5 separate regions of the Homo sapiens genome follow, and all the other regions are linked to region 2. The links are contacts of gene promoters, found by promoter capture Hi-C in blood cells and fetal thymus (Javierre and others, 2016). All regions are on one chromosome and are shown on one strand. Each heading gives the region's core, a stretch centred on a gene start or on the middle of the fragment in contact. The rest is flanking DNA. Distances are from core to core; before and after follow the strand shown. Region 1 overlaps SPTBN5 (spectrin beta, non-erythrocytic 5). Region 2 holds the start of LTK (leukocyte receptor tyrosine kinase). Region 3 overlaps MAPKBP1 (mitogen-activated protein kinase binding protein 1). Region 4 overlaps MAPKBP1 (mitogen-activated protein kinase binding protein 1). Region 5 holds the start of PLA2G4B (phospholipase A2 group IVB).

Region 1 (2,860 bases), core at 82-2,581, 380 kb before region 2:
GGAGGCAGAGTCACCTGAAAGAAAGGGACAGGCTAAGGAGATGGGCACTAAAAGGAGGCCGGAGCTCCAGGGACAGAGGGACCCTCATGGCCAGGGTGAGGGGCTGGTGCAGGGGTGGGGTGGGGCAAAGGGATCATTGGAAACCGGGAACTGTGAAGGCCAAGGGCTCCTGGAGGTGGCTGTCCCTGGAGGCTGTGAAGTCACTGAGCTGGGCCTGGCTGGATGGAGCCTGACTGTGCGTGCCTATCACTATATCCTGGAGTGGAGCTTACATCCAGCCTCCTGGGGTGTGTTGGAGGAAAGCCAGGGAGGGGAGAAGCCCAAGCAAAGGGAATGGGAGTGACTGCTGTCCTGAGCAGGTGCAAGAGCAGAACGCTGCCAGCTGCAGAATGCTGGGCCCTAGTTGATCCAGGGACAATGACCCTGTGAGCCAGTCATCTCCCCTCCAGGAACTGGGGAAGGGTGTAAGCCCCACAGCCTTTGTCAGAGGTGTTGCAGCTCTCCCCAAGCTTTAATATACAGCATGTCACTGATACCTGTGAGGGTGACATCCTTGTCTCCATACACATAGGAGGCAACTGTGGTCTAGAAAGGATGACGGAGTTGCCGCAAACACACAGGGAATGTGTGGCAGAATGAGGGATGCATTCGCTTATGGAGATGCTCCCATGCCCTGGGCATTCTATGCAGGCGCTGGGCTCCACTAAGCAAAGCCCAGACCCCCACCTCAAGGCACCTGGCTTCAAAGGGAGACAGATTCATTGAACCCAGATCAGCGGTGTGCTGGTAAACGTTTAACAAATGATTCTCTGGGGGAAATAAAAACTCCAGTGTGCTGTATTCGCTGATCCTATGGCGTTAATACCCCCCATCACGGTGAGTTTAAGCCACCAGCGTGACATCGCTCAATAGGAAGTCAGGAGGATAGGCTCTCAGGAGCTGGGAGGAGCAGACAAACACCCCACTCACCAGAGGCTCCAACTCTAAGCCAAGGTGATTGACATGGCAGGTGGAATCCACCCCAGGAGCATGGGTGGGATCCTTTAGAGGCCAGCCAGATATACCAAAGTTTACCTAGGGGGACACCCAGGATTGCAGCTCCTCCCACAGGGCTAGTAGTGGCCGGCTGAAGCCAGTTGCCCTTCAGGTCTTATGGAAAGTCTCACTCCTTTTCTTTCTCCATTCAGTACTTACTGATCGATTGCCTGCTGTGTGCCACTCCCCTAGGATACACCAGAAAACAAAGCCAAGATCCTCACTTGAGCAGGGCAAGGGGATCGAGAGTGTGTATTTGGGTGGGAGAAATAGTCCTTAAGTTTCTGTGTTAAATAAAGTGGTCAGGCTAGGCAACATCTGAGTGAAGAGTTAAAGGCAGGGAGGTGAATAGCCATGCAGATACCTGGGAGAATACTTTCAGACAGCAGGCACGGCCCTGCAAAGGCCTGAAGTCCTGTGCTTAGAATCCCATGGAACTATAAGAATCCCATGGGCCTTGGAGCTATGTGATTCCACAGGGTGGAAGATGGAGCCACAGGGGGCTGGGGGCCAGATCCTGCAGGGCTTCTCCCCTTGACTCACCCATCCTCCCTGTCCAAATGGCAGGATGTAGGGCAGAGGAGTCTCAACTTTGGTGTACCTAAGAGCCACCCAAGGTGTTGTTCAAGTGCAAATTCCCAGGCTCTGGCCCAAGACAGTCTGACTGGGTGGAGCCTGGGAGTCTGGATTTATAGCTGGCCCTGTTGGAGCCGGAACAGAAGAAGAGGGCTGAGATTTGGGTGTGAGCCCAGGGACCCAGCCACCCCCTGAAGATCCCAGGACACCCTGGGAGATGGAGGCAGACAGTTGCTATTGTCTGTTGGGCTCACACATTGACTGTTATGACCCCTCATTTCCAAACCCTGCAGCTGAACCACTGATCTTGGCCCAGGTCTACCTGTAGCCCACACACAGGGAGTCCTCCTGCTCTGAGGGCCCAGCCCAGTTCACCAGGTTGGGGCTTCACCCAGGTGGGCTTGAGGCCATGGCTCCAACCAGGCAGGAAGCCTTTGCTTTCCTGGACTTATCCCCTGCCTGCTTCTCCCTGAGGGAACTCCCAGCTGGGGCAGGATAGATTCCAGGATGCTCCCATCCCGCAGCTGGCCCCCTAAGCTTTTGGTGACTGAGTCCTCTCTGGACATGGGCTTCATGGCTTAGCCCATCCAACTGTGCCCACAGGTGCCAGTACCACTCATCGGGCCAGAGAACATCGTGGACGGAGACCAGACACTCATCCTGGGACTCATCTGGGTCATCATTCTGCGTTTCCAGATCTCCCACATCTCCTTGGACAAGGTATGGCTCAGTCCCCAGTACCCAGCACCTGGTGACCCAGCCCAGCCCTGGCCTCACCTCAGACCCCTGGGGATTCATAAGTTCCACACAACTTTTATGATCCCCATAGGAGATCCTGGAAACTGCAAAGTCCATATTCACTCTCCAACCATGGGTGAAGAACCCAGGATACCAGAGATATTGTAACATTGTAATATGCTAAAGTGAGGGCCAGGGCCATGGGCTTCAAACCAGGTCTGGGCAAGTCATTCACTAGTGGGGGGTTCAGGGTCACTGCCCAGCACCCACTTTCACCCCTGTGTGGTGCTCCCCACTTGGCACTGAGGCTCTGTAACTTCCATTACACCACAATGTACTGTTGGGAAAAATGAAATGTGTGGAGGGAGTCCCAGCTCTGGAGGTTTACAAAGTCCCTGGCACCCTACACACCAAAGATACAGCATTTCTTTCATGGTCCCCAGCTTCCTTCATTCCACCTCTTTCCCCCACACTGGATCAGAAAGACTATAAACTCTTTGTGGCACATGCC
Region 2 (2,748 bases), core at 147-2,646:
ACGGGGTTTCACCATCTTAGCCAGGCTGGTCTTGAACTCCTGACCTTGTGATCCACCCCACCCCCACCGTCCCCTTGGCCTCCCAAAGTGCTGGGATTACAGGTGTAAGCCACCACGCCTGGCTGAGACCAGACTTTTTACAAAATCACTGTTCTGTTTACACCTTGAATTATACTCAGACTTTACCAAGTAGCTAACTACTATAACTTCTCTTTTGAAGTATTTTGTATTAAACATAGGTCTCAGACTTTCAAGTTAGGATTTTTTTTTTTTTTTTTTTTTTGAGATGGGGCTTTGCTCTTGTTGCCCAGGCTGGAGTGCAATGGTGCGATCTCGTCTCTGCAACCTCTGCCTCCCAGGTTCAAGCCATTCTCCTGCCTCAGCCTCCAGAGTAGCTGGGATTACAGGCGTGCGCTACCACGTGTGTCTGATTTTGTATTTTTAGTAGAGACGGGATTTTGCCATGATGGTCTAGCTAGTCTCGAACTCCTGACCTCAGGTGATCTGCCCGCCTCAGCCTCCCAAAGTGCTAGGATTACAGGCATGAACCACCGCACCCGGCAAATGATCATTTAAGCAAATGATCGAAGACTCAAGACACAAAACTACCTGAAGGGAGTGGCTCCCACATTTGTAGGGTACCTTACAGAGCAATTTCCCTTCATATGATTTTGCAGGTGGTGGGGAAACTCTCAGGGCAGTTGTGGCCTGTGCTACATCACCCATTGACCAGAGGTGCCAGTACTAGTGCTCAAGATCAATCGATCGATCGGTCTACCTACCTATCATCTATTGACCTTCAGTGCTACTAAAAACACTCGGATCTTCTAACGTCTGGTCCAGTCTTTCACCCCATCACAGTGAGAGGCTGTGCACAGGGGTAACACAGGCAACGGAATTATATGAGGCAAACACAGAGATCCAGGTTTCTGGGAGTAGCAATGAGGTTCAGCCTTGCAGTCACAAAGGCACCACTAAAAGGCACAAGTAATGGCAGGTAATGAGGCCTTACTTGGAGCAGTTTAGAGTACTTCCCACGTGTGGTGACGCATGCCACACACTCACCACCACCACCACTGCCACAAATGAAGTGCACACTCCACTGCTCCTGTCCTCAGGAACCTGGAAGCCCCCACCTGGTGTCCGAGGTGTGGCTCCCACTTTAAGCGTGGGGCACCTCCTCTCCGGCCTCAAACCTACCGGAGCTCCCAGCAGGCTGCGGCACATCTGACGGCTGGAAACTAGAACCCCTGGGTGGGGACTCCTTAAGGCTCCTCCCGGAAGCGTAGGGACCTCGCTGCCCACACGCCCCTCCCTTTCCTCCTCTGGCGTCCTGGGGTCTGAGGTGGGCGTGGCCAGACCAGCTTTAGGTCCGGGGAGTGTCTCGCCAGCGGCAGCACACCCCTGTAAGTGGTGGCCAGGGCTGCCGTGGCAAAATGAGCTGTCAACTTTAGGTTGACAGGGGTGTGGCCGCGACCGCAAGGGCTTTTGTTGCCGGGTGGACCCAACAGGGATGGGCTGCTGGGGACAGCTGCTGGTGTGGTTCGGAGCCGCGGGTAAGTGCTATCTGGCGGTCAGGGGACCGTCCAGCCTGAGGCACTTTCCTAGGCTTGGGGGTGGCCGGTCAACAGGCCAGGTGTCAGTGGTTCCTCCAGAGGCCTCGAACTCTCACAGCCAAATTTCTCCGGTCCGTGCTTCTGGAGTGCGGGCCGAGAAGCGCCAAGTGCGTGCGAATCCCAGAGTCTGGATCACGCAGCTTGGGAAGGAGGAACATTCTTTGGGGTCTCAGCACCGCCTTGGGGCGGGGCCACCAATCTAAGTTGAGGAAAGCATTGGGGAGGCTGCAGGACCAAATTCATTGCGGCCCCTAAGTTATTCACTGGGAAAGGCGCTCGAGGAGAGAAACTGGCAGACCTATCAGCGCGCACCCGCGGGGCTTCTGCGACCGGAGTCGGGTAGTGGCTTCCAGGCTGAGAGCGCGGCTGGGCCGGGTGACGGGTGTGGCCGCGACCGCAAGGGCAGCTGTTGCGGGGTTCTCTCTTTCTTTCATATCCTATTTCCACCCGCCTTAACGTCCTGCGCCTTCTCCCAACACCTTTCAGGCGCCATTCTCTGCTCTAGCCCGGGGTCCCAGGAGACTTTTCTGCGGTCCTCGCCCCTGCCGCTGGCAAGTCCCAGCCCCCGGGACCCGAAAGTCAGCGCCCCGCCTAGTATCTTGGAGCCAGCCTCCCCGCTGAATTCTCCGGGTGAGCTTTAGACGCCTCCTTCCTCTTTCGCTCACCATACCAGACCCCTCTGGCCCAGCCAGGGGCTCGACGACCCTTGCCTCGCTCCTTGCTCTCAGGCACCGAGGGGTCTTGGCTGTTTTCTACCTGCGGGGCCAGCGGCCGGCATGGGCCCACACAGACACAATGTGACGGGGCGTACGCGGGGACCAGCGTGGTGGTGACCGTGGGGGCCGCCGGGCAGCTGAGAGGCGTGCAGCTGTGGCGCGTGCCGGGCCCTGGCCAGTATCTGTAAGTGCACGGCGGAGGTAGGGTGGACAGTGACCTGCTAGTTGGAGGTTTCACCCTCAGGGTAACGAAGTCCACGTGCGCACCGACTTGCGTCTTGGACTATTCCGCGGGGAGGTCCACCTTGAGTGCCCTTCAAGGTGGCAGTAGTCGCCACCGAGTTAGCCCTTACCCGGAACCTCTTACACCGAGCGGAAGGCCCCCAACCAGGGCGGCGCCAAGGGGTGCTTGAGCC
Region 3 (2,810 bases), core at 134-2,633, 300 kb before region 2:
GGTGCCATCAGCACAGCCACAGAAGATGTAGTCTTGGCTCACAGAGATGCAGTGGGCCACTGTGGTCTGTGGGCAGAGTGGCTCAGCTCAGCAAGGCCACCTGCCCACTCAGTCTTCTCTCCTCCCCACCCATCAACAGCCACCTGCCAAGAGGAGGGACCGGCCAAGGCAGGGGCAAGGGAAAAGCCGCCCAGCTGCCCTGTTCTGAGCCCCTCAGCCCTGTCCAGCCAGGGATTAGGAACCGAGGATTCTTCTAGGCACCAGAGGATCCAGTAGGAAAAGCCCAGTGAAGAGAAAGAAATAGCATGAGAAAGAGAGGAAGGTGCAGGCACCACTTACTGTGAAGCTGTCTATGTTCTGAGCGGAAGAGGAAAGCAGGGGAAAGAGACAGAAAGAGCAGAGAGGAGGCAGTTATACAGATCACCAAGGGCTGGAAATGGGCCAAGCTCTAGCTCCCCCAAGCTTCGTTCTCCTGGGATCTCCCGTATGCACAAGGGACCAGCCCCTAGTCTGAAGCCCTGGGCACTAGTTCTCCCCTGAGCTGAGACATGAGCAGACCCTACCCCTGGGGACGGAGGTACTTACCCTCAGCTCCACCCACTTGTCCAAAAGCCTTCGATCACTGAACTCGCACAGCAGCCCTGAGGACGTGATGCAGAAGGTACTGTCCGCCTTTTTTCCTCTGCCACAGGCCACATCAGTGAATAGGTTGTTCCGTAGCTCTCCCAGCAGCCCTGAGCGGCCCAGCAAGGGCACAGTGGCATTCACCTGTGGAGGCACACCACTGTTACACCCCCATCCACCCCAGAGCCTGCCCCTGGAAACTGGGCCCTAGGAGAGTACAGGGGACGCCTCCAGCACCTCCTTGCTCTTTGGGCCTACTCCTCAGCCCAGACAGCATCTGGCTCATCCAAAACTTCTGCATGACTGCTGGGAATGCAGAGAGAGGCCCAAGTGGGGCAGAGTCTCCTGGGTTGGGCTGGGCAGGCCCTGCCAGGGGCCTTGGTGGCTACTCCCAGCTTCAGCACCTCACCTTTGAGGTCTTGCTGTCATCGAGATACCAGAATTTGATGTGTCGGTTGCCTGCAGTGACAAAGTAGCTGCAATCCTCAGAGAAGGACACTGCTGTCACCCGACTGGACACCTTGTTGGAGGCCACCACAATGTTTTTCTGGAGGGGATGCCAAAGGAAGAATCAAGGCTCTGTCTCTTGGAGCTAAGAAGACAGTGACTCAGAGAATGGAGGAGAATTAGAATTTGTACTTGACAAAGTGTTTCTTTCCAGAATTTACTGGCCAGAAAAAGAGGGGTAGGGAAATAATCCCTTTCTAGAGGAGCTGAAAAGATTCGTTTCCTGCAGAAGTCTTTGAAGGCATAAAGCTAGCCCCTTCAACCAACATGCTTGGCCACACAGTTGCTCTTTTCTGCTTCAAATAACTTTCTAGAATGAGAATGGTTCAGTGGGGTGGAATGGAGCAGTGCAGGTCAGCAGTCTCTTGCCTCCCCAGCTGACACTTGACCCCTGTGAGGCTGCCAGGCCACCCCACCCAGCCACTCACCTTCCAGGCCCACACGTTGACGATCATGTCATGCTGGTAGCCCACAGAGACAATGTACTTGGCGCTAGGAGAGAAGGCCACACAAGCCACACCATACTTGTGCTCCTGCAGCTCGGCCACCTGGCTGTGCTCTGCCACGTCCCAAACCCGCACGGCAGGCATGTGCCCACTCTGCAGGGAGGCAAGAACTGGAAGTGAGTTCTTGACTTCTCCACAGGCATACAGCCCCACTTCGTCTTCCAGAGCGGGGCCCTCGCCTCCTCAGCTACTAGATACCATCACTTCCCCAGCCAAAAGTCAGGGCAGGGTATAGAGGAAATATGATAAAGATCTGAGGGCAACAGTGATTACCAGGAAGAAAGTGGCCCCGGATTTTAGTCAGCATCTCTGGGTGGCCGTCTGTACTTCAGGTTGTTCAAAGCTCCCTGAATGGTTCTGATGGGCAGCCGGCATTGAGAGCCACTACCACTCAGGTCTATTTCTGCCCCTAGTAAGACTACGCCGCCAGGACAGAAGCGTTCCTCCTGAGCCCAGCAGGGGGCCCCCGGGGGTAAGGAATAGTTAAGGCAGTGGTTTCCAAAGCACGCTTCCTTCACCAGCAGGATCAGCACTCTCTGGGAACTTGTTACAAATGCACATTTCAGACTCCCATCCCAGACCTACAGAATCAGAAACTCTGAGGACCAGGCTAGTGATGTGTGCTTTCACAAGCCCTCCAAGTGATTCTGATGTACACTAAAGCTTGAGAACCACTATTTTAAGGTATAGCGAAAACCAGGATTTGGTGTCTGTTTCAGAAGCCAAAGTGACAGCAGGCCTAGGACCGCAGCTCTCTGCGGAGGCCAGGACACCTGCCCTCTTTACAGTACTGCCAGCCCTCTTCCTCACTCACCTCTCCAGTGACCAAGTACTTGCCATCAGGGGAGAAGGCAAGGGCAGTGATGGTTTTCCTGCAAGAGATGGGGCAGGCTCAGAGGGGCACTGGCAGCCTGGCCTAAGCCTAGCCCCCTCCCAGCCTCTCAAAAGGTGAGACCAGCAGACACCAATGGCACATGTGGCACTTCCCCATCTGGCTTTAGGACCCAACCAGGTCCCAGCCCCCAGAGCCATAGAGACTCTAGACAGTGCCCTTCTCATAGCTCCCAGAAGGAAGAGGTATCCTGAGGACCCCAGCCCATTTACCTGGAACTGTTGAGGATGTGGTGCTGTTTGTGTTTCCGGGGATTGAACAACACAACCACACACCTGAGG
Region 4 (2,700 bases), core at 29-2,528, 270 kb before region 2:
GTAACAGAAGTTAAAGTAAAATCCACAAATGGGGTAATAAACACCCAAGAAGGTAGGCAGGTCTCATTCTATACCTCTACTGAGAATTGCTATGAAAAGGAAGCTGCCAGAAAACCTGGCTTTGTCCTGCATTAAACAATGGAGCCCAGAGGAGACGCTTAGCCTGGAGCAGTGGGAACATGAAGTATAATATAACAAATCCTTCTGAAAACACTGTAGCTTTATTTCTTTAACAACACTGCAGTCTGAACATGAAGTAAAACCAACGGATACTCTGAGGATGAGTGGGACAGACCATGTGCTCAGAGAAGCTTAGTTTGAATAAACATAGCCCCAATTTCAAACCTTGGACTGTTTTCTCCAAACAAAGGGTCAGTGATAACAGCATCAAGCCCAACTTCAGACTCAGAGGGTTGGTGGGGAGGTTACAGATGTCAGGCTGAAGCCTCATTTCTACCTGTTTTTTCATCAGTCAAGAAATGAAAATACACAGGTGACAAATGAAAGACATTCAAAATACCAGCAGGAAATAAGACATTGACTCAAATCCAAGAAGGGAACCTGCCCTAAATTGCAAACTGAAAGAGAGAAAAACTTGGAAAGCAGTAGTGCTCTTCCACTTTGAAATGAGTGAGGCCAAGTAGGTGAGAGGAGGTTTCGAAAGACAACTCCCAGCCTGAAGAGGCTGGGCTATTTTTAGACAGTAAATGAAGAGGTGTTGGGTCCAGGGAGAGAAGCATCCTCTCTCTCCAGTGAGAATCACTTTGAAGGCTGAGGGCAGCTGCAGGCACCGGAAGGAGGGATGAAATGGTGATCAAAGAAACAAAACTAGGAGAACATTGACATTTTTCATTGTATACCACCTGTTGTGAGGATCTCAAGACACTTCACAAGCCTTATTTCAAGAGACCTCAGAGACAGAAAATTCAACAAGAGCTTTGAAGGTCATTCACAAAGGCTGGTGAGGGGCATAGCTGCTGGCCACAGGGACATCCACTCTTAGTCATCTATTCTATGTGGAGAACTCAGAGCGTGTGTATTGAACACTAAGAAATGACTGGAGCCTGGCGCAGAGGCAAGCACCACTAGTCCCAGCTACTCAGAAAGGCAGGGGCTGGGCATGGTGGCTCATGCCTGTAATCCCAGCACTTTGGGAGGCTGTGGCAGGAGGAGCCCTTGAGGCCAGAAGTTTGAGACCAGCCTGAGCAACATCGTAAGACTCTGTCTCTACAAAAAACAAAAATAACTGGCCGGGCGTGGTGGCTCATACCTGTAATCCCAGCACTTTGGGAGGCTGAGGCAGGCAGATCACGAGGTCAGGAGTTTGAGACCAGCCTGACCAACATGGTGAAACACCGTTTCTACTAAAAATAAAAAAATTAGCCCGGCGTGGTGGCACGCGCCTGTAATCCCAGCTACTCAGGAGGCTGAGGCAGGAGAATCGCTTGAACCCGGGAGGCAGAGTTTGCAGTGAGCCGAGATCACGCCACTGTACTCCAGCCTGGGCAACAGAGCAAGACTCCGTCTCGAAAAAAATGAGTATGTTTCCCCAATACCAAATCATATATGCGTTCAAACACTGAGCAAAAGCTGAAATTAGAGTATTGCCACTTTTTCTCCTTCATGAAACCCACCCAACCAAACTCTTCTTAGAGTCACTTCTCAAAAGGCTCGAAGTACCACCACACAACTATACAGGAAAAAAACTTGGGGAAACAAATAGAGAAAGAAGAATTAGATTTACAATTAAAAAAACACAACTAGAAGAAAGTCATCTTACCCATTGTTTCCAGAAGGAATAATATAACCTAGATCAGATTAATGGCTCTTAAGGAGGAGGACGATCTCAATACCTCCTTCAGTTACTTTTTAAAAATCTAGCAACCCTCCAGCACAGACAATCCTTTTGTAACCCTAACTTAAATCTTGCCTGCTGGGCTTTGGTCCATTTCTATCCTTTGTCCTTGAAAACAAGCCCAGCTCCCTCCACATAAAAATCTTTCAGAAACTTTCAGAGGAGGAGGGTTAGCTATCAAGAACACATACATTTGCTTCTTAAGGAAAACACAGCCCAACTTAGAGATGAGAGGCAGGAAATGACAAGTCTACAGGATTTGAACTTGGGTATTTACTGATAACTTCAAGTCACACTTCACCAAGACTAAGCTGATTTAGCATAAAACTTTAAATCAGTCTTTTCCAATGTACTCCACTGAAGAGACTCCCCTCCCTCTGAAAAAGCTTAATAAAAATCTCAGCACTCATCTACTCTTTGATGTAACTTAAATCTCCACCTCCACTGGCTCTCTCACACCAGCTTTTAGCCATATTTTTAACTAGGTCTCCCCTGAATTAAGAACCCTTTACTGAGCACTGCTTTCTGCATACGTGGACTTCTTCTCTCTTATGTTCTTCACACCTAATTAGGCTGCATCTCTACTTCTTTGTCACCATTTTATTAATCGTAGTTTTGATCTCTCTTCTAAAGAGGTCATAAATTCCTCCTGATTATTTTATTCACCTGGATGTCCAAGTTTATCCCGCACTATATTTGACATCTTTAAATTAGTCTCATTTATTTTTTTTAGTACTTACTGCCTATCTTACACTGTCCTAAACGGTGTGATGTAAAGGAAATAAAGAGCATGACCCCGATCCTTAGGAAATGAAGACATACATAAAATAACAATAAGATATTGG
Region 5 (2,700 bases), core at 186-2,685, 330 kb before region 2:
ACCCTCCTCCTCCCTCAGCCCAGCACAGGGGCCAGGGCGGTGCGCACTCACCTAGGTCCTTAGAGGGTAGGCGATGGGCCTGCAGGACACGAACCGTGAGCAGGCAGGTCCTGGACACCTCTGCCTGCAGAGGTGGGAGAGGGGAGACCTGCTACGGGCCGATGAAGCCAAGGGTGACAGGGGCCACAAAGGAGGCTGGAGCAGTGCCTCAAGGCCTAATCCTGAACCCCAGGCCCATCCTCCATCTCATCAGAATCCTGAATCAACAAGAGGAGACATGATATCTCCATCATGACGCCTGCCAGCACTTACACAATGCTCTGCGCCGGCTCTGGGCCAAGGGCTTTGCATACATTAACTCATTTATCGCACAACCACCTTATGCACAGATACTATTTACGATGGCCCACTCCACAAGGAAACTGAGGCACAGAGAAGCAGTCACTTGCCTGAGGTCCACAATTGGGGTTGGAGCCCGGGCAGGCTGGCTCCAGATTTATGCCTCACACAGACCTGCTTCCACCTTCTCGGGCTAGTATCCTTTAGGCTCTCCACCCCACATCCCCAGCCCACACCCCAGCTAAGCAGCTTTCCGGCTGGTCTTGGGTGGCAGGGGACATAAGCTATCGAGGGAGGGGAAGTAGCACATCAGGGCCTTGGGCCCCAGGCTGAGCTGCTCTCGTACCCTCCCTCCACCCTGGTCAGAAGAGCATCCTGGAAATGGGCTCTCTCCTGGGCAGGGGAGGCGGCTCCTAGCTCAGACCCCTCACAGGCTGTCATGTCCTCCAGGTCCTGCCAGGTCAGGCTGAAGATGGTCCCCCGGTAGCTCCCTCCAAACCCATGCCCCTGGTTCTGGGAATGCAGCCTGGCAGGCGCACCGGGACCAGGGAAGCCTGTGCCAACTGCTTCCTTTCGGCCTTCCACCTGCCTCCACAAGGACCCTAACAGGTCAAGTCCAGGGAGCAACCAGGTCCAGGGCAGTGCTGGAGGGCCTCATCCACCAGGGTCAGCCCAGGGCCCTCACACTCCAGGCAACTGAGTCAGAGGAGCATGGAGGAGCCACTTGCTTCCAGGGCCTCAGGGCGGCAGCTGGGAGCCTCTGAGTCTCCAGGGCCCAAATCTGTGGTGCCAGGGAGCTCTGCCAGGAGCCCGTTCCCAGGACAGAAAACACTCAGGACGGATCCCTCATCCCCAAGCCTCCTCCTCCCCTGGCTTCTGCCCGCTACCCTGGTCTTGTGGTCAATAAACTCCCCTCCCTACCCCTGGAGAAGACCACAGCTCCCATAAGAAACATATTAACTAGGCCCCAGGTAGAGACCAGGGGTCCCAGTAGGGACCCAGGGCCCTGCCAGGCCTTACCACAGCCATGAGACTGAGTCCTCAGGAGCAGGAATGATGGGGCAGTGGCCACAGGATCAAGGACTGTCAGCTTTCTAACCCAGAGCCAGGGATGTGATGTCCCAATTGGTCCCAAGTCCCTCCTACCCGCCGCCTCTGCTCCACCTAAGCTCCACACCCACTCCTGAACCAGCCACCTGTCCAGGAAATGAGGCACCCTAAGCCTATACTAGAGCTCCTGATACCTCTGTGGCACTCGCCAGCCTTTACCAGCTGGGCCTGCCCCACCCAGCCCTGCAATCCCAGCCTGGAGAGCTTGCTGCCAGGGGCTGAGCAGAAGGAAAGCAGGGGTGAGTCCCAGAACAGCAGCCAAGGGAAGAGTGGAGTTCCCTGTCACAGGCCTTTCGCAACTCTGGCACCTGTTGGACAGGAATGCCCAGTCTTGATGGCAGGGATCCATCAATCTGAGATGAACACCCGGGCCCCCTCACGACAGGCAGGGGAGTGGCTGTCACATAAAACAGCCCTTCAAAGCTAGGTGCTGAGTGGCCAGGGATGAGGCCTGTGGGTTGGCACTCAGGGGCAGGGGGTTCTTCTGCCTCCAGGGCATGGTTTGTGGGGGGGTCAGCGTGTGGAGACCAACTCTTTCCTCAGAGGGACAGCCCCAGGAGAGGCGGGGGCTTCCGTCCCTTCCTGCCTGTGCCTGTTATGGGAGAAACAGGGGTTATCCCCAGGGCACCAGGTCCCACCTGCTGCCCCTGAACTGGGGGAGGACAGTAACCATAGGAGAGCTAGGAATAGCTCTCAAGGTCCTGGGCAAAGAGGTCCGGACCAGAGAGCTACAAGACTCAGGTCTGCTTGCTTGTCCCAGGGAGGGGCTGCGGTGACTCTCATGGACAGCGGGACTTGGGCAGCTGACGGCTCTTTGGGCCCAGGCTGGGATCCAGCCCTCACCCCCAGTGAAGGTCACCCTGAAGTTTTTACCTGAACCTTCAGGCCCTCCTTAGACCACAGAAGGCAACTTCAAGAGGGAGGATCAGAACATACGACTCATAAGCCAGGCGCAGCAGCTCACACCTGTAATCCCAGCACTTTTGGGAGGCCGAGGCAGGTGGATCACGAGGTCAGGAGATCAAGACCATACTGGCTAACACGGTGAAACCCCGTCTCTACTAAAAATACAAAAAAATTAGCCGGGCATGGTGGCACGCACCTGTAGTCCCAGCTACTTGGGAGGCTGAGGCAGAATAGTGTGAACCTGGGAGGCGGAGCTTGCAGTGAGCTGACATCACACCACTGCACTCCAGCCTGGGTGACAGAGCGAGACCCCATCTTAAAAAAAAAAAAAAAAGGACATACGAC

Evidence for each region. Contacts are between HindIII fragments. The CHiCAGO score rates a contact against its expected background, and 5 or more counts as called.
Region 1: a contact is called between a fragment that was not itself captured here and the fragment with the promoter of LTK in region 2, in 1 of 17 cell types (erythroblasts). The highest score is 5.0, in erythroblasts.
Region 3: a contact is called between a fragment that was not itself captured here and the fragment with the promoter of LTK in region 2, in 1 of 17 cell types (endothelial precursors). The highest score is 5.4, in endothelial precursors.
Region 4: a fragment that was not itself captured here is called in contact with the fragment with the promoter of LTK in region 2 in 1 of 17 cell types (M1 macrophages); the score reaches 5.3 in M1 macrophages.
Region 5: a contact is called between the fragment with the promoter of PLA2G4B here and the fragment with the promoter of LTK in region 2, in 1 of 17 cell types (erythroblasts). The highest score is 5.8, in erythroblasts.

The regions. Positions count from the first base shown.
Region 1 is chr15:41,889,560-41,892,419 of GRCh38, reverse strand. SPTBN5 (spectrin beta, non-erythrocytic 5) reads left to right here. Exons shown (of 68, transcript NM_016642.4): 4 at 2,215-2,331. Among named protein-coding and RNA genes, the nearest start is that of SPTBN5, 3.1 kb to the left of the region's middle. RefSeq lists an enhancer at 776-1,651. The HindIII fragment of the contact is 1,639 bases long and covers 512-2,150 here.
Region 2 is chr15:41,512,475-41,515,222 of GRCh38, reverse strand. It overlaps LTK (leukocyte receptor tyrosine kinase), which reads left to right and starts at 1,396. Exons shown (of 20, transcript NM_002344.6): 1 at 1,396-1,556; 2 at 2,103-2,246; 3 at 2,345-2,516. The coding sequence starts at 1,514. RefSeq lists a silencer at 2,031-2,110 and an enhancer at 1,817-2,564. The HindIII fragment of the contact is 8,992 bases long and covers 1-2,748 here.
Region 3 is chr15:41,810,877-41,813,686 of GRCh38, reverse strand. It overlaps MAPKBP1 (mitogen-activated protein kinase binding protein 1), which reads right to left. Exons shown (of 31, transcript NM_014994.3): 4 at 2,742-2,804; 5 at 2,452-2,509; 6 at 1,560-1,730; 7 at 1,034-1,171; 8 at 586-768; 9 at 1-66. Among named protein-coding and RNA genes, the nearest start is that of JMJD7, 16 kb to the left of the region's middle. The HindIII fragment of the contact is 1,838 bases long and covers 465-2,302 here.
Region 4 is chr15:41,778,057-41,780,756 of GRCh38, reverse strand. All of the region lies in intron 2 of MAPKBP1 (mitogen-activated protein kinase binding protein 1), which reads right to left. Among named protein-coding and RNA genes, the nearest start is that of MAPKBP1, 4.9 kb to the right of the region's middle. The HindIII fragment of the contact is 1,930 bases long and covers 314-2,243 here.
Region 5 is chr15:41,837,582-41,840,281 of GRCh38, reverse strand. PLA2G4B (phospholipase A2 group IVB) reads right to left here and starts at 1,435. Exons shown (of 20, transcript NM_001114633.2): 1 at 1,360-1,435; 2 at 52-124. The coding sequence starts at 1,368. JMJD7-PLA2G4B (JMJD7-PLA2G4B readthrough) reads right to left here. Exons shown (of 25, transcript NM_005090.4): 7 at 52-124. The HindIII fragment of the contact is 20,869 bases long and covers 1-2,700 here.